Linked DNA regions of Homo sapiens: regions 1, 2, 4 and 5 are each linked to region 3. The links are contacts of gene promoters, found by promoter capture Hi-C in blood cells and fetal thymus (Javierre and others, 2016). All regions are on one chromosome and are shown on one strand. The core of a region is centred on a gene start or on the middle of the fragment in contact, and the rest is flanking DNA. Distances in the headings are between cores, read along the strand shown. Region 1 holds the start of PLCH1 (phospholipase C eta 1). Region 2 overlaps GMPS (guanine monophosphate synthase). Region 3 holds the start of CCNL1 (cyclin L1). Region 4 overlaps MFSD1 (major facilitator superfamily domain containing 1). Region 5 overlaps KCNAB1 (potassium voltage-gated channel subfamily A regulatory beta subunit 1).

Region 1 (5,447 bases), core at 1,637-4,136, 1.4 Mb after region 3:
AGAGAATAGGATCAAAACACTGAGAAAAGCAGAGACAGGGAAATAGTAGGAGCAAAGGTGAAAGTGTGAGAGTGACAAAAATTCCTTGCTTGGCCAAACAAACATTAGTCATGCTTCTGAGCCTTCTCCTGGGCCCATATGTGCGTTTTCTTGTAAAACTCAGTTTTAGAAAAGAGTTCTGCCAAGTCAGTTTAGCAAGAACCCCCACTCTCCATATCTGATCATTCTCAATATCTGATCAGATCCCTCATCCTCCACTATTGCCCAGGTCATGTCTGATCTCCCTGGCCTGTGTTCAGCAAGAATCCAGTTATGTCGGGTTAGCTAGAGTTCCTCATATTCCTGATGTTTCCTCTTAGTGATTTTTCATCCAGCAACCCCATCTGTTCTTTGTCTATAAATTCCAAGCTGCCTATGCTGTATTCTGCATGAGCTCCTTGCAGTAGTCCCTGTGCCGATTTCGATCGTGCTGGATAAAGCCTTCCTTACCATGCTTTAACACTGACTAATTTTTTCTTTAACAAGAGAAATGCTGATTCTGAATTGCTAGACTCCCACCGTTTCTGAAGTCCTTATCCTTCCCCCTATCTTAAAGTGGGAGTCAATACATCAGCTTTTTTTACTCAAGCTGGTTTGATAAGGGGTTTTGTTATTTGTACCTAAAAGCCGTGACCAATTTGTAGAGTAGGGCCATAAAGACAGGTACTACGCTCTACTTCAGGAGTGCTATCTATATTCCAGCTAAGGCTTACCACCTAGAGCAGTGCCTGGTACATGGCAAGTACTAAAGAAATATGTGTTGAAAGAGGAGTGCCTCTTCCTTGATACGCTTTTTTGGTCAATGGTTTTCTTAACTTGGTGCATTGATTAAAATAGGGAACATTTATCTCCTTTCCTCTCTTGCTCGTGGATATAACTCAAGATGGTTGCTGTTTAAATTTGAACACCTTAAATAAATGGCTCTTTTTGCAACTGGAAGCACAATTTTTGCACAGCTAGAAAAATCTTTTTCCAACACAGAAATTCCCAGTGCAGTTTTCTAAGAAACCCCCTACGATACGCAGCACAGCAGGCTCACCACAAGGCACATCAATCATTTTACTGTGTATCAGGCACCTCTTACAGGATTTTCTGTGATCCTGGTGTCAGTGCACATTCTGTATCAAGGCAGAGATGATATGTAGAAATCTGGCAGCTATTTAGAAGGGAGGCTGGGCAGTGGTGTGCCAGTATAATTAATGAGAGTCATCGCTTAGGAAATGAAGAGGGTGGGGGTTGGGAAGGATGCCTTTCACCATTCAATGGCATTTAAGAAAAATTGATGCTTTCTTAGCACTTTTAATGCTGGGAGGACATTAAGTCAAAGAATCACAGCAAAAGATTTTTGTAACTACTGTACAGATGGATGTCCCTGTGCTTGAAGAGGCAGGGCTAATTCAACCCCAGACTTTTCAGCCAGGCGGATTTCAACCTTGTATTGAGCTACCAGCAGGAGTTCTTTATACTTGGAAAAGTGGTAAATCCTTACTAAAAGATCATAGCTTGCATGACCAAGAGATCCTCTAGAAAAGGTACTTTACTACCATGTAGGATGTTTGTCTTACCTGCCCAAAGAAGTTTTAATGAAGATCTCATTTTCTCCAGTTCCCCTTTAACCAGTGAAAGAGGAGGGTATTATTTGTTTTGTTTTTCTATTTATTCTTTGGTAACCATGGAAGAGTTTGTGTAACCTAGAGAGGCTGCTTATTACCCACTGTCTAATCCCTTTGTTATTATTCCATACTCTGATTGTCACAAGCAGGAAAAATAGTTCTGTCCTGCTTCTAAAAACTTAGCAATGTAACACATTTTCTTGTTTTTAGTGATTTTCTCCAATTAATTAATTAATTGTTTTAGTGATTTTTCTCAGATAAATAATGTTAAAACGACTTGGAGAGAAAAGCTACATTAAAAGATTATGGATGTATAAATGTCCTAAACATTTAAGAACATGCATAATTATGATTCATACCAACTTCAGAATTATTACCTTTGGGAAGGGGTGGGGGTAACGAGTCAGGAGTTGGGGTTTAGCTATATCTGTAATGCTTTATTTAAAAAAGAAGGGCTGGGGGGAGCAGGAGTATTACATGGTATATATCCTGTTTTTGGTAGGTTTGAAATATCACACAATTTAAAAATTTAAAAGTTTACAAAATTATGGGAGTTGATTAAAACTATCAAAATAAAGAATGCATAGCAAACAAGTGCTCTTATTATGAACTTTGTGTCTGAGTTTATTTCAACATGTGCATCTGCATTTTTTCAGACTCAAGAAAGACAAACACCGGAGGTTAGGGGGTGAACTGCTGCTGTTGAGGGATTATCTTGGTGGTTTTTTTTTTTTTTTTTTTTTTTTTGGCTTTTCTATTCACCATGGAGGTTACCAGCAAAACAAATCTCCAACAAGCTTGTTTACAAAATATAAAGCAGTTTGGAGGCAGAGGGTTAATGACTTAATTTCTTATAAATTGAGGCTTGTGTATGGGCATGCAAAAAAACAAAAACAAAAACAAGTAAATTTGGGGAGGTTTCTTTCTATAGAGGCAAAGGACCTTACCTACATTTTTTCCAAATTGATTTCTTCCTGGTACTATTGGCAGGAAGAAATTCAAGTGGGTATTCTGGTGGCTTTTTTCTTTTTTCTGAGAGTCTAGGATTGTTTTCAGGACAAAGTTTCTTCTTGCCCATGGTGCTTTGCTGTGACATTGTAATTGCCTCTGTTGAATTGAATAATACAAATGGGTTGTTTCTATGGTATCGGCTAAGTGGGATGAAAAGGTGAAACCCTAGATCTTGCGCTGAGAGGTCACAGTGCTACCACCCTCCACACTGTCTGTCAAAGAGAACAGGCAGCCAAGGCCCTGAGCTCCAATCTCAGGCACTCATTTGTAACTTACTCGTTTGTAACTTCCTGGGCAAATTCACGCATGAAAAAAGAAAATGACTTTAGTTTATGTTGTCACTAAGCCCAGAAAATCCCTGCCAACCCCATGCTGCCAGCTTTCCTAGGACATTCTTATTGGAGGATTATTTTAAACTGAAAGGTGAGTGAAGAGCTGCGTCCCCACTCCTTCCCAGCCAGGCTTTGAACTAACAATAGGGCAGGTTGAATGAAGGCTGATAAATGTAAATCCTGGAATCCAGAAGCCGGATCACACCGCGGCCGTCTAGGCCAGCGGCGGTTCCAGCATCCGCCCCAAGCTGGTCACTCATCCTTTCAGTGCATTCAGTAGATTTCATCGTTTCATCAACACTTGAGTGCCTGCTTCGTGCAAGCTTTCCTCTGCCACCGCCGCCTTCTTACTCCCGGCAGGTTGCCCGCTTGAGTCAACCAGCCACTAAACGGATCTAAGTGAATAAGTGGCCTGTTAATGCCAAGGAGTAGCATTTCCAAATGAAGAGACTGGGGGTAAATAAAAGCAAAGTGTTACCATTTACACGCTCTCAATTTTAGTTGCACTTCACTCAGAGTAGATCTCTTTAATTTGCGGCATCGACAGATGCTATATTCTTAGAAATTTTTTTTTTTTAAAGGAGGTAAGACGGGCGTTTGAGAACACTTTTTACTTTGGTGCAAGTTGCACGCAGTTCCCATTCACTCAGAGTAGATCTCTTTAATTTGCGGCATCGACAGATGCTATATTCTTAGAAATTTTTTTTTTTTAAAGGAGGTAAGACGGACGTTTGAGAACACTTTTCACTTTGGTGCAAGTTGCACGCAGTTCCCATTCCCTGCGCCCTTCACTTCCAACTTTGTTTCTCCAACTCCTTTACCCCCCACCACCGAGGCCCTCTGGCTACAGCCCCGAGGGGTTACCCTGGGTTTCGAAACTTTTGAAACTTGCGGGGGAGTAAAAGTACTTCATTCCCAGTGCTTCTGGCCCTTGCCAAGCGGGGAGCCCCGCAGGAGAGTGTAAGCCAAGGGTTCCAGGTGCAGCCTTGGGGTTCCACGTGCAGCCCTAGGGTTCCGTACACCCATCCCGCCCGGGCCAGAGGAGGCAGCAGGCGCTCCAGTCCGCTCTCCGCAACTCCAGTTCCTGATTTCCTCGGAAGCTGCGGGGCCGAGAGGGAGGGGGGCTCCTGTGTGAGCGTGAGGATTTGAATGAGAAAGCAGGTTGTGGCGGCGGCGCCCTGCTCTTCCCCGCTCGTCTGGGGCTTCTGCTGGCTAGTGGGGAGAAGTGCTCTTCTAGGGGGGCTTTTCTGGCCCTTGGCAGGGGTTTGGAGTTGGAGTCACAGGGGCCAATAACTCATCACCCCAGCACTTCGGAGGTGGCTCCTTGTGCCACGGACTCCGAGGAGTCCTTCAGCTACTGAACACTCAAAGCTGAGGAGGTCAGTGCTTTCGGGGGAAGAAGGGGCCCAGGAGAGAAGGGGGTGTGCAGGAAAAAGAGAACTGGTACGCCAGTCCGATGAGCGAGTGAGCAGGTGGCCCAAGTTCCTTTCTCGGCAGCCACAGCCGGCACACGCCTGTTTAGGACTGTGAGTGCTGTGCGTGGGGATCCCCTAAGGCCCCGTGCGGGGAACTGGCCACGGCCGCTCTTCAGGGTCCCATAATTCAGAAGGATGAGGGTGGGTGTGTGTGTCCGCGAAATAATGTAACTCTCGGGTCCCTTGCGGTGGTGGTGGGTGGCGTTTCGCCCGGTGGAAGGTCCAGCCTCGCTGCAGGATGCTTCACCCTCACGCGGGGTCCCGGGACCCTCTCTCTGACCGCCAGACGCCGCCAGGAGAGCAGGTCCGCGTTTCCCAGCAAGGGGAGTGCAGCGTCCGTTACACTTGGGGAGTCTCACAGCTTTTCCTGCGCCCGGTGACCCTGCTCAGGACCTCTTAGAGACTAGGTGTGCTCAGCGCGAGGAGGATATACTCCATTGCCCTTTCCTGGGAAGAACCAAGAGCGCCCGAGCGGCGCGGGGTGGTGGAGGCAAACCCCGGCCCCGCGGCGGCACGCTCTGCGCCTGCGCGGCGTTTCCTTGGCGACTGAGCTGCGGGTCCGAGACGCCACCCCGCGAGCCCCTAAACCCAGTTCCCTGTTGAGCGTCTGCGACGCCCTCTCCCCTCCTTCCCGAGGCTTTTTCTATTTGTTTCCTTCTGCGAATCAATTTGTGATCACATTTTGACGTTGAGAGTTCAGCATTAAAGCAATAACCAACTAAATTAAAAAAAAAAACCCAACTTTTCCCTTCCCTTGTTACCGTTTTGATCACGGACAGAAGAAAATGGTGAGAGATTAGTTATTAGGGCAGCAATTGAAATCCCCCTCTGTCCCGAAAAGGGGAGACGAATAAAACATTTACTTCCTGGTAAGGAGTTAGAAAATTCAGTGAAGTGATTGTTCTCGAGCGTTACAAGAACAAATCTGTGCCTCCTAACCCAGGTGAAGAGCAGAGCTTGTACAACCCAGCAGCACC
Region 2 (5,755 bases), core at 633-3,132, 1.3 Mb after region 3:
GAAGCAACCAAGGCACAGAAACGACACAGAGAAGTGCTGTTTAAACTACTATTGATAAGCTTTTTACAAAGAAATAAAATACTTTAATTCTCAATGTTCCTAGTATTTTAAATTATACTGTAGTAAACAGTAGTTTTACTATTTTTTTATTTCCCTACACTTTTGTAATTGACAAAAGTTTTTAGTGATTTAACAAAAATTTTTAAAGATCACAAAACAATTGTAATTTTCCCACTGACTATTAAAATTGCTTTGCATGGTTTCAGCTTGCATTATTATTTTTAGCTGTTTTACTTATCCTGCATAGCAAGGACTGCCTGTATTTATTTAAGTAAACTAATCTTTACTCAAAAAATGTATTTTAAAAGAATTTTCCTGTTTCCTTAGCAATAAATGTTCAATTCTGTGACACAAGAGATTACTGAAGAAACTGAATCCTTGCCCTATTTCCTTCTACTGTGGGTATGACCTTGCCTATGCAGCAACTGTCACAGCTTTGACAATTCAGGAGAAAACAAAAAGGCTCCCACTAGTAAAAGCAAAGTTCCTCTCCCTCAAAACCTGGCATTTATTTGCTCACACTTCACACACAGTTGTAAAGTTTGATAATTAGATTCGAGATATTAGAAAAACCATCCTAATGAGAAAAAAGAAACTTAGTCACATCAATGCAGAGACAAATAAAATTCAGCATCACAAGATAGAAAAATCTACCATATCTATTTACATAAAGCTATTAAAAAGACAAATGCCTAAAGACTTAAGGTGAATATCCCTCACTGCCCTGAGTGCATCATAATAAAATAAGCAATATTCATAGATATATTTTAAGATATCAAGAAAAAATATTAAGGAAAAAATTAAACCATATACAGCAAACTCTTTAAGAATAGGGTAAGAAGATCTAGCAGATTCTGGAAAAGTGGAGATGGAAATGTTTATGGAAATGTTTTGTGATTTTCTTGGATCCCACATAATTACTGAACAACTAGATAGCAAAGACATTTACAAGAACCCCAAAATACAAGTTGGTGGTGACAAACTACCACAGCCACAAACCCTAGTGCTACAGCACCTACGTGGGAAGCAATCCAGCCTTATTAAAGGACCTGAAAACAGGAGAATTCCCAACACCCAAGAGGTACGACCCAGAAGGCACAGCACCCAATTAGAGAACCGCAGCGCGCTAGGAGGAGGTTTGCCCACACCAATAGTACACAAGTGGCAGGGAACCCAAGGTAAGACATAAAGGGGCCAGGAGAGTTTAACCCCCATGAACCCTTGACACTAACCAGTCAGAGATCCTTTCCAGGAGAGGGCCTGCTATGAAGAGCCACTGCTGGGAGATGACCAAAACTAACAGGACAGGAAAAAGGGAGAAGGAACAGACTAACATGGGGCACAGGGACAGAGCCAGGAATTCTTAGGAAACAAGTGCCATAATTTTTTAACAGAAGAGGAAGTTGTATGAAGTTAGAAACGTTATCTTGACTAGCTTCCTTCTAAAAGTTGAGGAAAACTAAATTCACATAAAAAGGAAACAAAGTATAGAAGTTAAATCCCATACAAAGTTACTAAAAGTAAAAAAAAGGGAGGCCAGGTCCCTGTGACTAAAGCCTGTAATACCAGCACTTTGGGAGGCGGTAGTGGAGGGAGGCAGATCGCTTGAGCCCATGAGTTCGAGACCAGCCTGGGTAACATAAAGAAATCCTGTCTCTACAAAAAATACAAAAATTAGGCCAGGTGCCGTGGCTCACACCTGTAATCCCAGCACTTTGGGAGGCCAAAGAGGGTGAAGCATCTGAGGTCAGGAGTTCGAGACCAGCCTGGCTAACGTGGTAAAACCCCATTTCTACTAAAAATACAAAATTATCTGGGTGTGGTGGTGCATGCCTGTGATCCCAGCTACTTGGGAGGCTGAGGCAGGAGAATTGCTCAAACCTTGGAGGTGAAGGTTGCAGCGAGCTGAGATCACACCATTGCACCCCAGCCTGAATAAGAGTGAAACTCCATCTCAAAAAAAAAAAAAAAAATTAGCTGGGAGTGGGTGCACGTGCCTGTGGTCCTAGCTACTCGGGAGGCAGAGGTGAGAGGAGCCCAGGAGGTTGAGGCCACAGTGAGTCATAATCATGCCACTGCACTCCAGCCTGGGTGACAGAGTGAGATCCTGTCTCAAAAAAATAAAAATAAAAAATAGAGGGAATAAAGAACAGAATGATGTCTCTATGAGAATAAGCAAGAAAGACATCCTCAGCTCAAAACTAGAATGTACTATTTCTATAGTAGCTAAAAGATACTTTTAAAATTACACAAGGCAAGAGAGAACATGAATCAAAATTAGTCTATGAACTCAGAACGACCAACCCTAAAACATACTCCAACAAAATTACTGGATTAAAAAAAAAAAAAAAAAGCCTTTGGGTATTTTAGATTAAAAGCACACATAATTTTTTAGGCTAAGGAGGGGGGATTACTTGAGCCCAGGAATTGGAGACTAGTCTGGGCAATGCAGCAAGACCCTATCTCTTAAAAAAAATTTTTAATAATTAAAATAAAGGAATGTTGGTCAATTTTACTGAGGTTTTTCATAAGAGGCCATCATCTCACATAACACTGAATGAAGTTGGAACCTAAACTAAAATGTTAAATCAAAAAGTAAGACTCTGTAGTTCTGTTGTTCTACCCTATCCCTTTTTATTTTTAAATTTTTTAACCTAAAGAAAAGTTGAAAGTTTGGTACAATAAACACCACTCTTCATCTATATCAATGATCAGTAACATTTTGCTGTATTTGCTTTATTTCCATCTACATACACTTTTTCCACCTGAACGACTTAAACTGTATACCTTTCACTCCCCCAAAACCTTTTCAGCATGCATCTCCTACAAACAGGGACAATCTCCTATGTAACTACAATATCATTATCACATCCAAGAAAGTTAACATTGATAATTATCTACATATAAGTTTCCCCAATTGTCAAAAACAAGGTGTTTATGGTTTTTAAAAAATTCCATAATCTATCAAGGACCACACACACAGTACACACATTGTCATACATTGTCTCCTTCAACTATTCACCTCCTCACCTTTTTATAGTCTTTTATGGCATTGACCTTTTTTAAAGATCAGACCAGCTTTTTGTAGAATGTCCCACACTGGATCTCTTTGTTGTATCATGATCAGATTCTAGATAAACATTTGACAAGAAATTTACATTGGTAATGTTATCATGCCTCCTCTTGATATGATACAATGCAAAGACACAATGTCATTTTGTTCCATTACTGGTGATACTGAGTTTGGATAACATGCCAGTGTGCTTAAAAGAAAGAAAAAAAAAATCAGATTCAAATCTTCCTTTGCTCAAAACCTTACAGTGACTTCCCCTTAGACTGTTCAATAAAGCTCAAAATATTTCCCAAGACCTATAAGAACCTGGCCTACTCTTTAGCCAAACTGCTCTTTTAAAATTCTCTATTGCTCCAGAGTGGTATGCTGTCCTTTCTGGCTGAAAAATCCCCAAAACATAAATGAATCATTTCAAACTTGCCAAGTGAAAGAAGCCACGCATCTCTGAAATTACAATATATCTTAAATATTAATATCTTAAAATTCCACTAGTCCAATGACACAACTATCATTGCCATTGTTAATATTATGTTAATTCATATTGAGTCACATAAAGTTGCAGAAAAGCTTTTCCTTAAGGGAAAGGGATTCCCAGTGTGTCTCAAGGAATTTCTCATAGAACAGGAAGACATCCCAAGGCTTCAAGGGAAGAAACAGAGGTGAGCCCAGCTAAGTCATCAGGAGGCCGGGCACGGTGGCTCACGCCTGTAATCCCAGCACTTTGGGAGGCTGAGGCGGGTGGATCACAAGGTCAGGAGATCGAGACCAACCTGGCTAACATGATGAAACCCAGTGAGTGGAGATCACATCACTGCACTCCAGCCTGGGTGACAGAGCAAGACTCTGTGTCAAAAAAAAAAAAAAAAAAAAAAAAAAAGTCATCAGGAATAGACATGCTAGATTTTTTTTTTTTTTTTTTTGAGATGGACTCTTGTACTGTAGCCCGGGCTAGAGTGCAGTGGCGCGATCTCAGCTCACTGCAACCTCTCAGCTCACTGCAATTCTCTTGCCTCAGCCTTCCGATGAGCTGGGATTACAGGCACCTGCCACCACGCCCGGCTAATTTTTCATATTTTTAGTAGAGACGGGGTTTCACTATGTTGGCTGGGCTGGTCTCAAACACCTGACCTCATGATCCACCCGCCTCGGCCTCCCAAAGTGCTGGGATTACAGGTGTGAGCTACCGCACTCAGCCAGACATGCTAGATTTTTATATAACTCACCAAGTTTGCCATTTCTCTATGTATTCTGTGAACAGTTGAGTAAGATCCCTAGAAAAGTGTAGCAACTTATTATTCCTACAATTATGAATGGACAAGTGCAATCCCTTAATATTTTAGTCAGCAAAACATTTAAAAACCAACTGAAGGCTGAGCGCCATAGCTCACACCTGTAATCCCAGCACTTTGGGAGGCTGAGATGGGAGGATCACTTGAGGCCAGGAGTTTGAGACCAGCCTGGGCAACGTGGCAAAACCTCATCTCTACTAAAAATAGAAAAATTAGCCAGGCATGGTAGCACATGTCTGTAATCCCAGCTACACCGGAGGCTGAGGCACTAGAATCACTTGAACCCATGAGGCGGAAGCTGCAGTGAGCCAAGATCATGCCACTGCACTCCAGCCTGGGCTGTGACAGAGCGAGATTCTCTCAAAACATAGAACAAAACAAAACAAAACCCTATGTGTAAGTAGTACATGAGTCTTTCAAGTTTGTCTAAATAAGTCTCTTTCTATATACAGGTTAAACATCCTTAATCCAAAAATCTGAAACATTTTGGATTTTTGGATTAGTGGCACTCAAACAGTAAGTATAATACAAATACTCCAAAATCCAAAATCTAAAATACTTCTGATAAAAAATTCTAGGTATAGCTGACAGTTACACAGTTGTTCATTTTAGGTAACAAATGTATAAAATGCCTTTAGAAAACTGTGTTTATACCTGAGAAAAATCTGGAAGTCACAAGACATACCCTGATGCAATAATGTACAATATTAGATCTACATTTGGTCATATAAACAATGTTTACCAATTACCAACTGTTTCATGTTGCCTAAATTATGATCACTAACTTTTGTTCCATTAGTCTTATATTAACAAATGTGTAGATATTAAATATAAACAAAAATTTCAATCACTTAATTCATCTGAGTTCATTTTCACTACCTCCTTTAATCTGAGTACACAACAGATAGGATTCTATGGGAGTGCCTTCAATAAATTACTATGTTTAAGTTTTCAATGTTCGATAGATTTGGGAAATACAAGTCTCTACTGACATATGTTATGTCAGCTTTTCACTGCTCTTGGTTAATAACTTCATACATTGAAAAAACTCTTTTCCCTAATGAGATTTCAAGCTAGTAGGTATTCATTAAAGACTATTTAGTTTCTACGTGTTACGTATATTGTTTCAAATTCAATTATTTTTCCTCCTTAACTGAACCAGTTTGTACCTCTGACTGCAGCTTCATCTTCTTTTGCTAACCAAACACATCTCTTAGATTTTCAAAGTAGTCCAGACTCTCTTCTACCCTATCTACAAGGGGCCAATAGCTCCTTTCAAGTTCATGTGGGCACCTTCCCAGAATATAATGAACAGCTGAATGTACTATCTAAA
Region 3 (5,802 bases), core at 714-3,213:
AGTGACATCCAGATAGGTTAATACTTCTGCCAGCACCATAATTACACTCTCTTGGCTGTACATTCCAATCACTCGAAGACAGGCAAAACTGAACCACTGGCTGGGCCCACCTTAAATCAGTGACATCAACCTCTGCAGGCAAGGCTCAAGTATCAGTACATTTTAAAACAACTTTGCCCACTGAAGGTTCACTTAATCAACTGATAAGGCCGGGTGCGGTGGCTCATGCCTGTAATTCCAGCGCTTTGGATGCCTGTAATCCCAGCATTTTGGGAGGCCGAGGCGGGCGGATCACCTGAGGTCAGGAGTTCAAGACCAGCCTAGCCAACATGGCAAAACCCCGTCTCTACAAAAATACAAAAATTAGCTGGACGTGGTGGTGTGTGCCTGTAATCCCAGCTACTGGGGAGGCTGAGGTGGGAGAATCGCTTGAACCCCGGAGGCGGAGGCTGCAGTGAGCCGAGATCGCGCCACTGCACTTCAGCTTGGGCGACAGAGTGAGACTCTATCTAAAAAAAAAGAAAAAAAAAATCAACTGATAACAGGCGATTAACAGGAGAAAAGGGATACATAACACCGGGGTAAAAGCAGGAGGATGATTACCCAGTAGCTTAATGGAGTACAGAAGATTTTATATCTTTTTTTCATAGGGGAAAGGGTAGATGAGAAATGTAGACATTTATTTTGAGGAGCAGCAAATGATTATTAGGAACAATGAATGGACAGAAATTAGTAAATAATTTTCTTTTGAGTAATCTTGTGAAAAAGTCCCTCCAGGAATGGCTGCATTTCTGAGTCTTTTTGAAATAGGATACGAGATTTCAGCGAGGGGAGGAATGCGATTGATTCTTCTACAAAGAGGCTTCTCTAGTCAGGAAAGGAAATTTCAGAGAGTACCTCCCTGCACTTGGGAAAAGTGGGAGCAACAAGTCAAGGTTGGGGGACCTGCATTATGAGGCAGCTTCTAAAGCCTCTGTCTTTGGGGTATCGCTTTCTGAGCGTCAAGAGTAAAACGTGATGCATTCCTTTCCTTCCAACCTAGATTCTAGTAGTTTAGATCAGTATCATTGTTTTTACTTCAAGGTTCAGGAAACGCTGGAAATTGCTAGCTAATATCACAGGAAAAAAAACAAAAAACACGAGGTTGACCTCACCCTACCCGCGGTAGGTAACCATGTATGAATAGAGACTCCCAGGCATAATCAAATTACCTCTGTCAAGTCCTCGCCCTAAGACTATTTTTGGAAACTAGGGATTTTCCAGATTACTGAAAGCCGTGGCGGTGTCAAAGGCCGGGCAGGAGTTTCGCAAGCGGAGCTATGAAAGCAGCCACTCTCGCGGTCATTCCTATGCCTCCGCCCTACTTCCCCATACTGGCAAAAACACGCTCCCCGGGGAGCTTTCATTTGGGAACCGATAGGGTCCACAGCCCTGTGTTCTTCAAATACTGTAAAGCAGCCCTCTCCAGATTCCTTGAGGGTCACTTTATATTACACATTCGTCCACACAGGACAACAAAGTCACCACTTCCACCCGCCAAAGCGCGCTCAGGTCGGCCGCCACTTCCCTTGGTACACGCGGAACGCAAGCCGCGCCGAGGCTAAAGGAAGAGGCCGGAATGCAGGGCGAAGGGGCGCAGAGATGCTAGCCAATGCTGCCACCTCTATTTTGGGTATAAGGGATCTTGTAAAGCTCCGTTATTCGTGTGGCTATCACAAACAAGGTGGTTTCGACCGGCCTTGGCTAGAGAAGGCCTCCTCAGCCTCTGAGGATCCCAAGGTCTGTCGCAGCACCCAACACTCCCCTCGCAGGCCCAGATGCCGAGGGCGGAGGCGCGGCCTGGAGGGACTAGTTGGCGCGCGGCTGCCCGGCGTGGTGACGTCAGGGCGGAAGCGCACGCGGCGTGAAGCGGCCCAGAACCCGGCGGTCACGGGAATATCCGTCGCGCCGAGAACGCTGGTTAGTCTTGTTTCGGGTTCCGGCTGCGTTGGGCTTGCGTGCGGCTCGCTAAGACTATGGCGTCCGGGCCTCATTCGACAGCTACTGCTGCCGCAGCCGCCTCATCGGCCGCCCCAAGCGCGGGCGGCTCCAGCTCCGGGACGACGACCACGACGACGACCACGACGGGAGGGATCCTGATCGGCGATCGCCTGTACTCGGAAGTTTCACTTACCATCGACCACTCTCTGATTCCGGAGGAGAGGCTCTCGCCCACCCCATCCATGCAGGATGGGCTCGACCTGCCCAGTGAGACGGACTTACGCATCCTGGGCTGCGAGCTCATCCAGGCCGCCGGCATTCTCCTCCGGCTGCCGCAGGTCAGTGCTCCGGCCCCGGGCCGGCCGGGCGCTCCTCTCCTCTCCTCCGTCCCCTACGCCGCATCTCAGTATCACCGTGCCCCGGGAGGGTGGGGACGGTTCCTTCAGGCTTTCCCGTTCGGGGCCCAGCCGCGGCCGGGGCGTGCCGGGGCGGGGGGCTGCGGAGGCGGAGGGAGGACTTGGCAGCGGGCTGTTCGCAGCGGCGGCGGCGGCGGGAGGGGAAAGGGAAGCGATCGGCGGCACAAAATGGCGGCGGCGCCTGGAGCGGGCCCGCCTGACCCCTGCGCTTCCGTTCTCCTCTCTTGTCTGCAGGTGGCGATGGCAACGGGGCAGGTGTTGTTTCATCGTTTTTTCTACTCCAAATCTTTCGTCAAACACAGTTTCGAGGTAAGCACAGCGGAGGCGGGTAAAAGGGATTTCTTCATCCGGAAATGGGCAGAGTAGGGGTAGTGTCAGCAGCCAGCTTTTCCAGAAAGGGAGTGGTTTAGTTTAGGCCTTTGTACCTACTTCTCACTCGCCAGGAAGTGGAAACCTTTAGAATGTGGTTCAAAATCGATCACGAGCCTAAGTGCCCTCTTAACGAAAAGTACAGTTTTCAACCAAATGCAGAACTCCTGTAAGATTGAGTTTGACTCTGGAACCAAAATTAAGATGAGTTAAACAACAAAAAGTATAGTACTAGCATAGCTGGTAGACTTACGGCATAGAGATGTCTTCTCTAATTTTACTAAAGGTTGTCCCAATTGTGTTCTAAATTTTATTCTTCAAAGTGAGTTTAATCTAACAATGGCTTTTGTGGCTCATGGGTTCTTTCAGATTGTTGCTATGGCTTGTATTAATCTTGCATCAAAAATCGAAGAAGCACCTAGAAGAATAAGAGATGTGATTAATGTATTCCACCACCTCCGCCAGTTAAGAGGAAAAAGGTAAGATTGGCATTATTGAACATAGTATCTCTTGCTACTGCTGTACCGTGCACCAGTCATCAAATCAAAACATCTTTCCTTTCAAGTGAATACGGATGCAAAAGAAAACGGACTTTAATTTAGGTGTTAAAGTTCATATAGGAACACTGATACTTAAAATAATTTGAAAAAAGAAACATAATTAACCGGTTATCTAAAGTTTGTAGAGGCAGTTGCATTTATGGACAATCCTAACAGTGCTGTGAAGCCAGGCCTGTGGCTTAAGATTAAACAAGAAAGGGAGTACATTTGGCTCAAGTGTGAGTGTATTCTGTAAGTTATTTTTCCTCTCCCCTCTCTGGAAGACTGAAGGCTGGAAGTTTAAACACTGTAGTTTAAGTTAATATTGTGGCAAAGTTCTGTGTAGATTATGTTTTTCTACTCGAAGTCCCAGTTAATTCTTTATCAATTGAGGTTGGCTTTTGTTAGAGTACTTCTCAACATTGAACTACGATAAATCGAATAATACCGGATCTGAAAGGACTGCAGGATGATAAAGTTTGAAGTTTGAAGTCAAAGGGATTAAACAGGTATTTTGTTTTGGTTAGATACAGTCTCAGTGAGTGGGTTAGAAAATTAACAAGTAAGATTGATTGGGTTGCATTTAGATAGGGCCATTTATTTGATGTTGTAAGAAAATACAGAGACTGAAATAGTATCTCCTAGGTGTTGTGGTAACATAATTTTATGTGGACCTATGTGTTCCTGTGAGGCAGTACCAAAAAGTTTGTTGCAGGACTTCCTGCATCTACAGGTGACTTCCAGTACATGCTGCAGAATGATATATTTGGTGTAGAATAGTTTTTGCATTCACTCTTTAAGGAATTGTAGTGATGTTAGACAAATTGTACTGAGTTTGAAAGGAAGTTATTAAAAGGATTATAAGTTGTTCTGGGGGTTGGGTATGTTGGTTAGTGCTGTTAGTATTCTATATGAGTAGTCCTTATTGGCTGAATCTGTAAGTTGGCAGTAATGGAACTATTCAGACAAGCAAATATTAAAGCAACTTTAAGATGACTAGTCTATTCTGTGAGTCTACAGACAGTTCTTTTTTAAAAAAAGAGTATCCTAGTCAAAAAGTCTGCAACAGTTTTCCTACATACTTTTTCTCCCCCATCTTTTCTCATTCACCTTAACTGTGTCCAGGGATAGAGTACTTTTTAAATTCTAAAATATCTTTTAGTTTGTTGATGAGTCCCTGGGAATTGGGAAGATTTCAAATTGGTCTTTGGTATGGTCTGAGGTTAAATCTGTATTTAGATACCTGGCTGATTCTTCAGGATGTTTAAAGTAATGACACTAATACAAGGCTCTATCTTTAGTCAAAGGTTTCTCTTTGCTTAAAGGAAATGGTTTTCTAGTATTCTTTGAACCATTGAGCCAACTATTATGTAATCACATGATTATCTTCTGTGGAATTTTCCTGTGAGACTAGTTTACTTCGTTGATGTTAGAATAGGTCTTAACTGTAAAAACCATGGAATTTAAAATAATATAATCTCACCTGATTGTTGTGTCTGATGTAACTTTGTTTTTTGGGTCATTATTACAGAGAAACTGATTTTGTTTCAATCTTAGAAGTCTGATTATAGCAAAATTTAAAAGGAGTTGTTAATTGCATGGAAGCCTTTTTTTAAAGCAGGATGTAAAAGTGTTTCTATGCATATTACAAGTTTACTCAAGCACGTAACTTGTATATGTTATTAACTTCAACTCTTTTTTCCCTTGCAACCGACTATACAGCGACCAGCTACATTTACCAAAGCCTGGGTGATGTGGAGTGGTACATAGAGATGAAGCTGTCGTCATGGCAACAGTGAGTGAAGTATCGAAAATCCCCAAGGAGAAGCCAGTGCTCTGAGAATAGGTCACTGGAATCGGGGACTAACAGGTTGGCCACTGGTGAACCATTTAGAAAAACTCCTGTTTCTTGTTATAAGCTTTTGTCTTTGCTGTCCAAGTTATTAGAACTATAGCTTTGTATTTATTTTTGCATAGGTTAATGTCATTAGAAAGTACTATCAGTATTATACATTGGTTAGGTAAAGCATATCACTTGTCTTAATGATGCTATTTGTTTTAATCTAGTTTATTCATAACTTTAAATTGTAGTGTGACTTTGACAATTACAGTGGAGATACATTATTCATGTTGCTTGTAGGTCATTGGTCTCTTCAGCCTGGCTACACATTGAGAATTAGCAGAGGAGCTTTTTAAAAAGTACCAGTGCTTAGTCCCCAACCTGGATTGTTTGGCCTATTCCTCCTTCAGTTTTTTGTGGTTCGATAATTATCTTTTAAGTTGACAATAAACAGCTAAATTTAGAGGGGGGATTGCTTTTTCATTGTTCTAGTTTCCAAATATTTACTTTTGAGATGCAGCGTATTAAAATTTTCAAAGACTGGTTTAACCATTCTCATTAGTAAATACAATGTATTTTCAGTGTATCCATAGATAATAAAAGTTGGATAGGTAAGAATTGGAAGGGTGTTAAGTGATGTCATTTAGTCTACCACCTT
Region 4 (6,054 bases), core at 2,160-4,659, 1.6 Mb before region 3:
CCGAGATGGGTGGATCACAAGGTCAGGAGTTTGAGACCAGCCTAGCCAACATGGTGAAACCCTGTCTCTACTAAAAATACAAAAATTAGCCAGGCATGGTGACGGGCACCTGTAATCCCAGCTACTCAGGAGGCTCAGGCAGGAGAATAGCTTGAACCCAGGCGGTAGAGGTTGCGGTGAGCTGATATCATGCCACTGCACTCTAGCCTGGGTGACAGAGCAAGACTCCGTCTCAAAAAAAAAAAAAGAAGAAAGCATAAAAATATCCAACTTACTTTGGTTAAAAAAAAAAAAGTAAAATATCTAGTATATTAAATATTGACAAGTACTTTTAAAAAATAAGAAAGAAATAAAGCTGGAAAGGAGAATATAAAATTGGGAGTGGAGGCCTCCCAACTGAAAGCAACTTTGGCGTATAAACTTGCAGGAAACGAACTGTGGGGATACCTGAGGGAGGAGCACTCCAGGCAGAAGGAACAGCCACTGCACAGGCCCCAAGAGGAGCTTGCCTGGAGAGTTCAAGGAATGGCAAGGAGAGCAGAGGCTGGAACAGTGCAAACAGAACGGAGAGGATGAGATGAGGTCCCAGTGAGGAAATGGTGGGAAGGGAAGCTACAGGAGGACTTTCAGTTTTTATTCTGTGTGAGATGGGAAGCCATTGGGGTTTGAGTATAGAAGTGGCATGATACTTTGACAGACTCATACTGGCAGACTCACTCTATCTTCAAAACAGACCACAAGGCAAAAGCAAAGGCACCAGTTAGGGAGCTATAGCAATAATCCAGAACAGAGATGATTGGGCCTAGCCCTAGGTGGTTAGCAGTGGGCATGGTGGGAAGTGGTCAGAGCATAGATATATTTGCATATAAGTTGCCCTGAGTTTCTAGAAGGGAATCTCAGGGGCTTCTTAGAGGCAGTTTAGGGATTATGAGAGTGGTAGGGAGATCTTGAGGAGGTGAAATGAGCCAGATCGCAGGCAGCCACCTCAGTTTCAGCCAACGCTGCTCAACTTTTATCTGATTTATGTATTTAGCGTCCATGTAAGATGATTTTATGATCAAAATGGCCAAGAGCTATTCCATTATAGGGCTGCTGGGGGTGACATAGATTCCGTCTTTTTTGCGCTTCTCTTGTTCCCTGTGCAGCCTCCAGAATGACCACAGAGGTCCTGGGTTTACCTCTCCATGATTTTTCTATTGCCTGAGTTTTTGAGTTTGATTGTGTTTAGACACTTGAACTATTAGCATATACCATATACCTTCAGTGCACTTCTCATTTTTCTTAGTATTCATGTCTTAGCTCGGGACTGGAGATCCAGCACCCTTTCAATTTTCCTTCACTATTGTTACTTGAAAACTCATTATTTCAACAAACATTTATTGAGTACTTGCTAAGCCAGGTCATGTTATTTTATTTAATAGATATTTTAAATAGTTAAAAGAGATTTTAAATAGTTATTTAATAGGTATTTTGGAATGAAAGGATTATTAAGGCAACATCCTATCTTTGAGGAATTTATATTTTTGATGGTATTAGAGAAAGCTTCCAGTAGGTCTCTGTTTACCTTGTTGCTTATTTGAGTAATGCCATTAGCTAGTATTTTATAAGAAACAGCCATGTGAAATTTGCTACTGTATTTGCTGTGAGAACATTGTTGAAGGCATGTACACTTCTCAGTCTTCAGCAGTGTCTGACCTATCAATAGCATTTCACGCAGTTGACATCCTCTCCACCTTGATTTCTTTTCTTGGGTTTCAGGATACCACAGCCTATAGTTTCCCCCTTGCCTTTCTGCCCACCCCAATGGAGCCCTTTTGTTGGTTCCATCTCGATCTTCTCAACCTGCAAATGTGGGAAGTGCCCCAGGGCTTGGTCAATTGACATCATCTCTTTTCTTTCAACATCCATAGTCTTGGTGATCTTACCAAGTTTTGCCATTTTAAGTAGCATTTTCCTTGCTCCTGAACTTACATCACTTGCCCAGATTTTTCCCCTGAATTCTACACCTGTATATGCAACTGCCTACTCAACATTTCCACTTGGATGAATGGCAGGCATGTCTAACCTAACACGACCAAAACCCAGTTGCCTTTAACTAAGGATGTGAAAAGTACAGCAGGAGCTGGTTTAGGGGATGGTGGGCAGAGTATCAAGAGCTAGGTTACAGCGCTCACAGTTGCTTAAGCAAAAACTGTGCTGTCATCCTGAGCGCCTCCGTTGTTTTTCCCCCACACTCTACATATTTTCCGTTAGCAATCCTAGTAGCTCTGTCATCAAAAGAAAATACATACACAGAGAAAGAGAGAAACTTAGGGCTCCTCAGAATGCAGCTTAATGAATTATAGCTAACTTAAAATGACACAGAAAAGAACCTGATGTCCTGGTAACCAGAATGAAGTCAGTTGAGTCTTGCTCAACTGATTTCACTTCCTTCTTTAAAAAGTTGTTAGACAACTAGATTCACAAACTGCCACAGACATATCTGGACTTGCACAAGACTCGTAATGAAGGCTTTGGGAATATCCTTATAGGCAAAATTTAGAAAATATGGAAAACCACACTATTTACCAAAGAATTACAAATTCAAATATTTAGCTGTTTCCTATCAAAGTGATAAAGTAATTTTCTAAAAGTAATAATAGCCTGTACTATCAATGCTACAATAAAAGGGATCCTCTCATATCCCACAGGTGGGGATGTAAACGTCTCTGGAATGATAATGCGGAAATATCTCTCAATAGTCCTCAGATGACCTAACAAATACCCTGACTTAATAATTCCATTCCTAGCCACTTAGCCTATGGAGACTAAAAGAGATGCACAGAACTTTCATAGCGAGAGTGTCAGACTATAGCACTATTTATAATAGTGAAAAATCAGAAAGAACTTACATGTATAAAAATACAGAAATACTCATATGATGAAGTATTATATGAAAATATTTTTATATTGAGTTTCTTATTCTCTGAGACTATGTTGTATTTTCACGACACTTATTAAAAGTCAAAGCTTCTGCTCGCCTTGGCAGCACATATACTAAAAATCAAAGCTTGAAAGCTTGATTTTTAGTGGCAAAAAAAATTTTTTTTTAATACTCTATTCATGGGAATTCTTGAGAGAAAAAACCTAATGGGATTTGGGAATGCCAACACACCTTATAGTTTGCATTAATAAAAACATAGTGTTGTCTCTATAAAAAATACACAAAATTAGCTGCACATGGTGGTACACATCTGTAGTCTCACTATTCTATAGGCTGAGGTGGGAAAATCACTTAAACCTGGGAGGTCGAGGCTACCATGAGCCAAGATTGCACTGCTGGACTCCAGCTTGGGCAACAAAGTGAGACCCTGTCTCAAACAAACAAACAAACGAAACCCATAATGTTGTTCCCGCTAGGTAGCCTCTAAGACCAAACCTGAAACACCATGATCATTTCTAAGTTCCAAATGCCAACAGGAGTACTGGCTAACTGAGATAAGTTCAGAGAGGCATAAGCACCATGGTAAGGGAGCTGAGATCCATGTCATATGGCTCAGGCAACCACAGGAAATGAGCACACATAACCAAGAACTTAAGAGCTGTCTACAAAGGAGCAAAGTGCTGATGCACAGCAGAGGAAGTAAACTTTATCTACAGAGAGCAAAAGTCAGAGCCATCAGTAAAAGCTACTTGTAAATGGAGGTTTCATCGCTATGTGAGGTTACGCTTCATAAAGTTCATTAAGGTAGGTGGGCTGCTTCATCACAGAGCAAGCTTGCAATCCCTGGAAATATTGCAAACTGAACCTGGACAGCCGTATGTGGAGAGGTTCTAGCAGGGATGCCAAAAATGGGTAAGAAATTAGACAACAAAACTTACAGGATCTCTCCCTATGCTCAGATTCTTTGAACTAATGAATGTACACAACCATTTTAGACTGTTTACTAGATGAAATAAGGTTAGAAATGCTTTACTCAAGGTAAATGCCATGCTGTGTTCTAGAGAAATCCATAAAAGTTAATATCTAATTTACCATACACAAATACATTTCATCCTGTGATTTTTAAGAGAACTATAAGATTTAATCTTTTGCTTCCATTTGGCTTCATCAGGCTTTTCATTATACTTACAATTCTAGCCATGCTAAGTTGAAGTCCAAACACCAGGTTTAATTCTTTGCCTTTAAACCAGCTCACAGCATATGTATTCTGGGCAACTGCTAAGGACTCGCCACCAATCCTAAAAATAGAAAAAAAAAAAAAAACCAGAAGTCACAACTTTAAAGAAATACTACAGTTAGCAATGCAGCAGGTTTAAAATGTTGGCACTTCTCCTATCAAGAGATGGGGCCTCTGTCCCCTCCCCTTGAATCCAGGTGGGCTTGTGACTACTTCAACCAATAGAATATGGTGGAAATGAGACAGTGTGATCCCAAGGCTCAGTTATAAAAGGTGACATCACCTTTTCACTCCGACACTCGCACTTGGAGCCCTGAACCACTACCCCCATGCTATGAGACAGCAAACCACAAAGAGAGGCCACATGTAAGTGCCCCAGTCAGCAGTCCCAGTCTTTGAGGCATCCCAGTCCAGGTGCCAAACATGTGAGTCAATAAGCTTTCAGATGATCCCAGCCCCCACCCTTCCATGAATCTTACCAGCTGAGGCCCCAGACACTAGAGGCAAAGACAAGCTGTCCTTGCTACACTTTGTCCGAATTCCTGCCCATAAAGTCCATGAGCATAATGAAATGGTAGTTTTATACCGCTAAGTGTGGGAGTCACATGATATACTGCAATAATAACCATGATAGGCAACAAAAGGAGTCGTCTTGGTTACTACATTACCATCGATATTATATAAAATGCAGATGTGGGAAAAGTGGTCCATGCTTTGTGAAAACATAAAAACTCACATTTTTCAGAACAATATGCAAAGCTCTCCATCAATCAATCCCCACATTCACTTTCCATATTCAACACTCTCCTACTTCCTGGGTTTTAATTTTCCTTCAGTAAGTTTCAATATTTACGATTCTCCTCCAAGGGCCTTCAGTTAGGAGCTTCCTTCCTCCATATCCTTACACCGAGGCCACCTCAGTATTAAGGACTAAGAAACAGTCTTAAGACAAATAAGAAATAGTCTTATTTCTTGTGACTCTGTCCTAGCCCAAAAATATTTTCCCTCTCTTCTAATAATCCAAATCCTGTACTTCTGTCAAGGCCTACTTCATCTGTAAGGCCATTTCTGACCACATTTCTGTTTCTGAATCCCTGTCATAACTTTACATACATTCTTCTTCCTTCTCTCTCACTGACGGTTACTTTTTGGGGTATGTCACCTATGTCTACATGCTCCTGACACCTGTGCAAAGCTTGAATAAGTTATGCTTTTAAAACTGAGTCAGTTCTGTCATCTGGGTCCCTCAGGGCAGCAAGCCCAAGGCTGGTCTCAGAATAGGCTTACTGAACAGACAATGCAATTCAGGTAGAACAACTGGTCTATAAGAATTCACACAGAATAGTCAGCTTACACATATTGTGCTCATTCAAGCAAAGCTCTTGGACAGGGTTGAAAGGACCCTCGCATCACTTGCTAAGAAAGAGTGAAATGTCCATCAGTCACCAACCTAGAAATCGATGGTCTATACTTTTCTAAATGTGGTTCAAATCATAGTCTTTAATACAACAGAACAGGCAAAATGCCTGGGAAAAATATCATTTCCAGAGAACTATTTAATACTCAAACCCCACACAGAGTTGATTAGGACCATTCAAAATTGTTGCTTATTTTAAAGGAAAACTAAGACAACTAAGAAATACTCTTATGCATATGAAGCTAGGTTTCAAAGATTTGAAGTAATTCCCCAGAAGAGACAAGGTTTTTTAAAGATCTTTCATAGATGAACACTAAAACAATAATACATTAGGATAAATTAAATTATGCATAACTTACCCAAATACAAATCTTCCAAATTCCATCAGCCAAAAAGCATTAAATATTCCACCCAGGGCAAAAACAACCTATAATGTAGAAGTTCATGTCAAATTAATGAAAAAGTAAATTCAAAGTA
Region 5 (5,302 bases), core at 631-3,130, 1.0 Mb after region 3:
CACAGTTCTAAAACAGGCAGAGCTTGAATTTGAACTCTGGTCTGTTTAACTTCAATGCCCATTTTCTTTCAACTTTACAAGAAAAAAGAAAATAGAAAAAACAAGGCTTAACAGAGGTTGTTTTTTTAACATAGCCATGGTCCCCTGCCCACCCTCTTTTTCCTGAGGGGGAAAAATCATAATAAAGAAGTAAGAATATGAAAGTCAGCTTCTCTCTTAACCCCAACTATGTTTATAAGAAATCAAGGTCTAAAGCTAAGTTGGGGAGGAGCCAAGAGAACCCTGGTTCTCTTTCCTAAAAATCCTTTCCAAATGGTTGCAGGAGAATGTCTTAAATAAGGGCAGTAAGCGAGTGTCTTAAAGGGAGAATAAACAGAGCACTAAGGACATTGGGGAGTGGGTAATGGAGAAATGTGTCAGGAAGATGTGTCAGAGCACAAGCTCATCATAATTTAGAGCCTTGGCTATTTCTTAGGGTTAATGATCAATTAAACTGTGCTTTTCTCCCCTCAAACTGATTTAGGGGCAACATTCTCCTAAGTCCCATTTCTTACTAGGGTGTGATATGGTAGCATACACCCTTGTCCAAGGCAGTATCTGGCATCTCCAAGGTAACAGAGCCTTCCCCACCAAGGCATCATGAAGAGTCGCCCAAAACCTATGGGGAGTATGGAATCCACATAGGTGTCTCAGAAGAGGCTGGGGGATGACTGCTCCCCTCAAGCAGGTGGGCTCCAAGCTCCCACCTTTAGCTGAGGCAGCTTTGCTTTCACCTGTCTGAAGAACGTGTTCCTCTACTTCATAATCCTTTGAAAAATGCTTTCCTAGAACATACCTTCATCTGAACATTGGCACACAGCACAGATCTGTAATTGATATTTAAACTAGACTTTTGAGAGAGAAAGGCATACCCTCTAAAGGTTTATGTAACAATTCATGGTAATACCACCCATCCTATGACAAAGACATGGAGGCAGACTTTTTTAAAAGTGAAATGGTCCATCTTCCCCTTCGCCCGATCTGTGTTCACATCACCATCACTACCACCACTGAGGGTCGAGGAAACACGGAGAAGAGAGAAAACGTGGGGGGACAGAGAAGCAGGCTCCTTCCGGTGACAGATTCAGAAAGAAACAGCAGCATCTCCTCCTCATCCATCCCTCCTCATTCCATGAGCTACCATGAAAAGGTGAGCTCCCCTTCTAAAGCAGGATGTGGTAGGCTGTCCTATCCTCCTTATAAATTGAGAAGAGTTCATTTCTTTTCTGCACAACCCTTTTATTACATAGAGTCTGTGTAAAATACTTTGCTCTCCAGAGAGGAGCCATATCATTGCAAATTGCTTTATGAATATAATTAGCTGATAAATTAGAGCAGCAGCTACTACACTGAAATAGACCTTCAGATTTTGGAAAAATGAAATCACTGGGGACATCTTGTACATGAAAAACAATCTTATGCTGTGCAGAAGTTTTGATATGAGCTAGGACAACTGTTCTTACAATTGCTAAATTGTTTTTTCAGTTTTCAGTACCTTGTCCTTCTGAATAGCTTTTACTCAGCTTCTGGGCTGTTTAAAACTCCAGGCGTACGTAAAGGAAGCACTTGTGCAGGAGCAATAATTGCTCTGAATAGGAAAGATTCTTCCCATCACAGAGCAACTTATAAAGATTACACATCCAACCCTATACCAAGAAAACATTTCTCCTTTTTGTTAATCTTTCATAAAATAAATAATGATATTGGAAGTTTAGTGTACAACCAGTAATTTATCTTGGGTGACACTGATTTAAAAAATAAATAAATAAATAAATAAATAAATAAATAAATAAAGTGCTGTCATTTCAAGGAGAACTTGAACTACTTTATTAGCTATTAGTACAGACCACATGATTCAAGTTTAGAAGAAAATAAGTCTTGAATCCCAGGCAGCATTAAAAAAAAAAATTCTACTCTTAACTTATAAATTCTCTTTCCCTTAAGAAGAATGGAGTCCCCACTCTTCATTTTGACCTGCCAAATCACCTCCCTACTCAGAGCCAAAGATACTTCTTCTGGAGCACATGGTTAGGAGTTTCCACAGATGAACTTGACTGTCTTTTCTGTAACCCTCTGAGAAAAGAGAACGCTTAAAGCTAAAAAAAAAAAAAAAAAAAAAAAAAAAACAAGAATGCAACCCAAGAAGAGGGCTCACTGCATTTTTCCTTCTTTTTCTTACAGGGTTTTGTCTTGCTATTTCAGTCCTTATTTCTTTAATAACAACCTTTGACATCAGTGCAGTGCCCTGGTTGGATGACTTTGCAATCAGCAGTACCTGTATGCCATGCCCGTCTCTGCTCTGGTGGTTTCCTGCAACGAAATTCCATGAACACGTAGAAACTTTTCCACATATTTCTGTTCGGCTGCTCCACTGGGCCTCACAGGTTTGCAGGCCGCCTGAGGCTGAGTCTTGGTCACTGCTAGGTGCCATCTACATTTTAGAGCCGATTCACTGGATTTTGGCAGACCCAGCTTGGGGCTCGGGATGTCTGCACAGGCAGGTTTATACAGATGCATGTTTCAAAAACCCAAGGAAGCAAAGCTAATTGCACGGTGCTTAACTTTAAGACTCACTGTATCTTGCTGTGAATACCTTGGGTTATCTGGCTTCAGTATGTCCCTCAAAAGGTTTAGCTTGTTTTCTTTAGATCTCTCTTATCATTTTTGTAGGCGAGCAGGCTCCTAAGTTCCCGACAGAGCTGTTGGTTGTGTGTCCCTGCCCAGGCCTGTGCATAAAGGAGGCTTTTGGTGGCCAATCACTTTTCTCATCCCTTTAAAGTACTCAGAGTCAAACATAAGCAACTATGTACTGGCCCTGGGGAAAAAAAATATGGGAACTTTTTCCCATGTCTTTCTATTTAGGTAAAAGGAAATATTTTGGTGGGATCTGGGCCAATCTGTTTTTATAAGGACCATAAAGCCTTAGGGATGATTCATGAGTATGTAATGAGACTTCTCTAAATTATTAAATATTTTGTAATCAAATAATTTTTTATACTAGAGGCATGATTCATTTGGGTGAAAGGTCCATTAACCTCTTTCAGATGTTGCTGTCAAATGATAGACAAATATCAACAAGTGGTTGTAAAAGGCAAAGGGTTCACACAAATATGGCTAATTATTTTTGACAAATATGAAGAGCAAATCTGTGGAGGAAGAATAGCTTTTCCATCAAATGGTGCTGGAGCAACTGGATATCCATAAGCGAGGCAAAGCAGAACAGCAACAAACAAAAATAAATGAACCATTGACCTAAACCTCATCTTTATACAAAAATCAACGCAAAATTGATCATGGATTTAAATGTAAAATGTAAAACTATAAACTTGTAGGTAAAAACAGGAGAAAATCCTCAGAACCTAGAGTTAAGTGAAGACTTATTAGACTTGACACCAAAAGCACAATCCATAAAAGGAAAAGCTCATAAATTAGATTTCATCAACATTAACAACTTCTGCTCTATGAAATACCACGTGAAGGGGATTTTAAAAAGCAAATTACAGACTGGGAGAAAATATTTGCAAACCACATATCTGACAAAAGACTTATATCTAGAACATACAAAGAACTCTCCAAACTCAACAATAAAAACATAAACAATCTAATTGGTAAACGGGCAAAAGATATGAACAAACATTTCACTGAAGAAGATATACAGATGGCACATAAGAGCATCAAAAGATCATTAGCCATTAGGGAAATACAAATGAAATCCACAATGAGAGATCACTACACACCTATCACAATAGCTAAAATACAAATGGTGATAACACTAAATGCTGTCAAAGATTCAGAGAAACTGGATCCCTCATAAATTGCTGGTAGGAATGTTAAATGGTTCAGCCACTCCAGAAAAGTTTCTTATAAGACTAAACATTCCAAACTTACTATATGACACAGCAATCACACTGTTGGGCATTTATCCCAGAGAAATGAAAACTTATGTTCACATGAAAACTTGTACACAAATGTTTATAACATCTTTATTCATAATAGCCAAAATCTAGAAACAACCCAAATATTCCATAATGGGTGAATGATTAAACTGTGGCATATTCATACTACGAAATACCACTCAGCAAGTAAAAGGAATGAACTATTGGTCAAAACAACCAGTTGAATAAATCTCGAGAGGCTTACGCTGAGTGTGGGAAAAAAAAAAAGCTAATACCAAAAGGTTGCATTTTGGAATCTGTATCATTCCATATATATAACATTCTCAAAATGGCAAAATTGTAGCTAGAGAGGAATAACAAATTCATAATTGTCATGGGTTAGAAAAGACAAAAGGGAAGAAGATGGCTATGGCTATAAAAGTGTAGAGGTGGGATTCTTATAATGGAACTGTTGTGTCTTGATTATGGTAGTGGTCACATCAATCAATACATGTAACCAAACTGCATGGAACTAAATATAAATTACTCAAAAATGAGTGCATATAATATTGGAAAAATCTGAATAAGGGCAGGGGCTTGTGTCATCATCAGTTTCCTGATTGTGCTATTGAACTGTGGCAAGGCAAGATACCATCATTTGGGGAAACTAGGCAAAGGATATATGGAATCTCTCTATTGCTGCTTATACCTGCATATGAATAAACAGTTATCTCAAAATAGAAAGTTTAAAAAAAAAAAAGCAAAGAAACTCCTCACATATGGGTTTTTCCACCACATGATTCCAGCTGTGACTCTCCTCCAACTGTGACTCCTGGACATAAACTGTTCATTCGGTCTAACAGCTTCACACTCACACCTCCCACCTGCCATCACATCTTACATCTCTGCTGACATGAATCTTCACACACGCGCACATGCTCCCTTAAAGCTCACCTCCTCTAGGAATTCTTCCCAGCCCCGGTACACAATTATTCATTGAAATTCCACTTGCAATTCAAACCTAAAGCCCTCACTTCACACTTCTAAACCGTTTCACAAACATTTGCACACCCCTTGTGATTTCTGCCGTATTTTTGTATATCCTATACCATTATTTATTTACTATTTGGAATTAAGTTGCTTTTTCTACCTAAATGAATTTTTTTAGTGTTATGTACTGAATGTTTGCATTCCTCCCAAAATTCATATGTGGGAATCTTAACCCCCAGTGTGATGATATTAGGATATAGGGCCTTTGGGAGGTAAGCGAGTTGTGATCTTGGAGCCCTCAGAATAGGATTAATGCCCTTATAAGAAGAGGCCAAAGGTAGCTTGCTGTCTTTTCACCATGTAAGGACACTGGAAGGAGAGAGCAGCGGCCCTTCAAC

What was found. Contacts are between HindIII fragments. The CHiCAGO score rates a contact against its expected background, and 5 or more counts as called.
Region 1: a fragment that was not itself captured here is called in contact with the fragment with the promoter of CCNL1 in region 3 in 1 of 17 cell types (fetal thymus); the score reaches 5.4 in fetal thymus.
Region 2: a fragment that was not itself captured here is called in contact with the fragment with the promoter of CCNL1 in region 3 in 1 of 17 cell types (total CD8 T cells); the score reaches 5.6 in total CD8 T cells.
Region 4: a contact is called between a fragment that was not itself captured here and the fragment with the promoter of CCNL1 in region 3, in 1 of 17 cell types (M0 macrophages). The highest score is 6.2, in M0 macrophages.
Region 5: a fragment that was not itself captured here is called in contact with the fragment with the promoter of CCNL1 in region 3 in 1 of 17 cell types (naive CD8 T cells); the score reaches 5.3 in naive CD8 T cells.

What each region holds. Positions count from the first base shown.
Region 1 is chr3:155,743,767-155,749,213 of GRCh38, reverse strand. It overlaps PLCH1 (phospholipase C eta 1), which reads left to right and starts at 4,143. Exons shown (of 23, transcript NM_014996.4): 1 at 4,143-4,374. RefSeq lists enhancers at 4,181-4,390, 4,285-4,906. The HindIII fragment of the contact is 869 bases long and covers 2,452-3,320 here.
Region 2 is chr3:155,884,867-155,890,621 of GRCh38, reverse strand. The region is part of intron 1 of GMPS (guanine monophosphate synthase); the gene reads right to left. Among named protein-coding and RNA genes, the nearest start is that of GMPS, 17 kb to the right of the region's middle. The HindIII fragment of the contact is 3,641 bases long and covers 62-3,702 here.
Region 3 is chr3:157,156,308-157,162,109 of GRCh38, reverse strand. It overlaps CCNL1 (cyclin L1), which reads left to right and starts at 1,963. Exons shown (of 11, transcript NM_020307.4): 1 at 1,963-2,318; 2 at 2,631-2,705; 3 at 3,135-3,244. The coding sequence starts at 2,016. RefSeq lists enhancers at 1,102-1,161, 1,182-1,231, 1,319-2,048, 2,682-2,751 and a silencer at 2,332-2,541. The HindIII fragment of the contact is 11,903 bases long and covers 1-5,225 here.
Region 4 is chr3:158,807,346-158,813,399 of GRCh38, reverse strand. It overlaps MFSD1 (major facilitator superfamily domain containing 1), which reads right to left. Exons shown (of 16, transcript NM_022736.4): 5 at 5,937-6,004; 6 at 4,113-4,221. Among named protein-coding and RNA genes, the nearest start is that of MFSD1, 8.3 kb to the right of the region's middle. The HindIII fragment of the contact is 699 bases long and covers 3,060-3,758 here.
Region 5 is chr3:156,140,433-156,145,734 of GRCh38, reverse strand. All of the region lies in intron 1 of KCNAB1 (potassium voltage-gated channel subfamily A regulatory beta subunit 1), which reads right to left. Among named protein-coding and RNA genes, the nearest start is that of KCNAB1, 23 kb to the right of the region's middle. The HindIII fragment of the contact is 8,066 bases long and covers 1-5,302 here.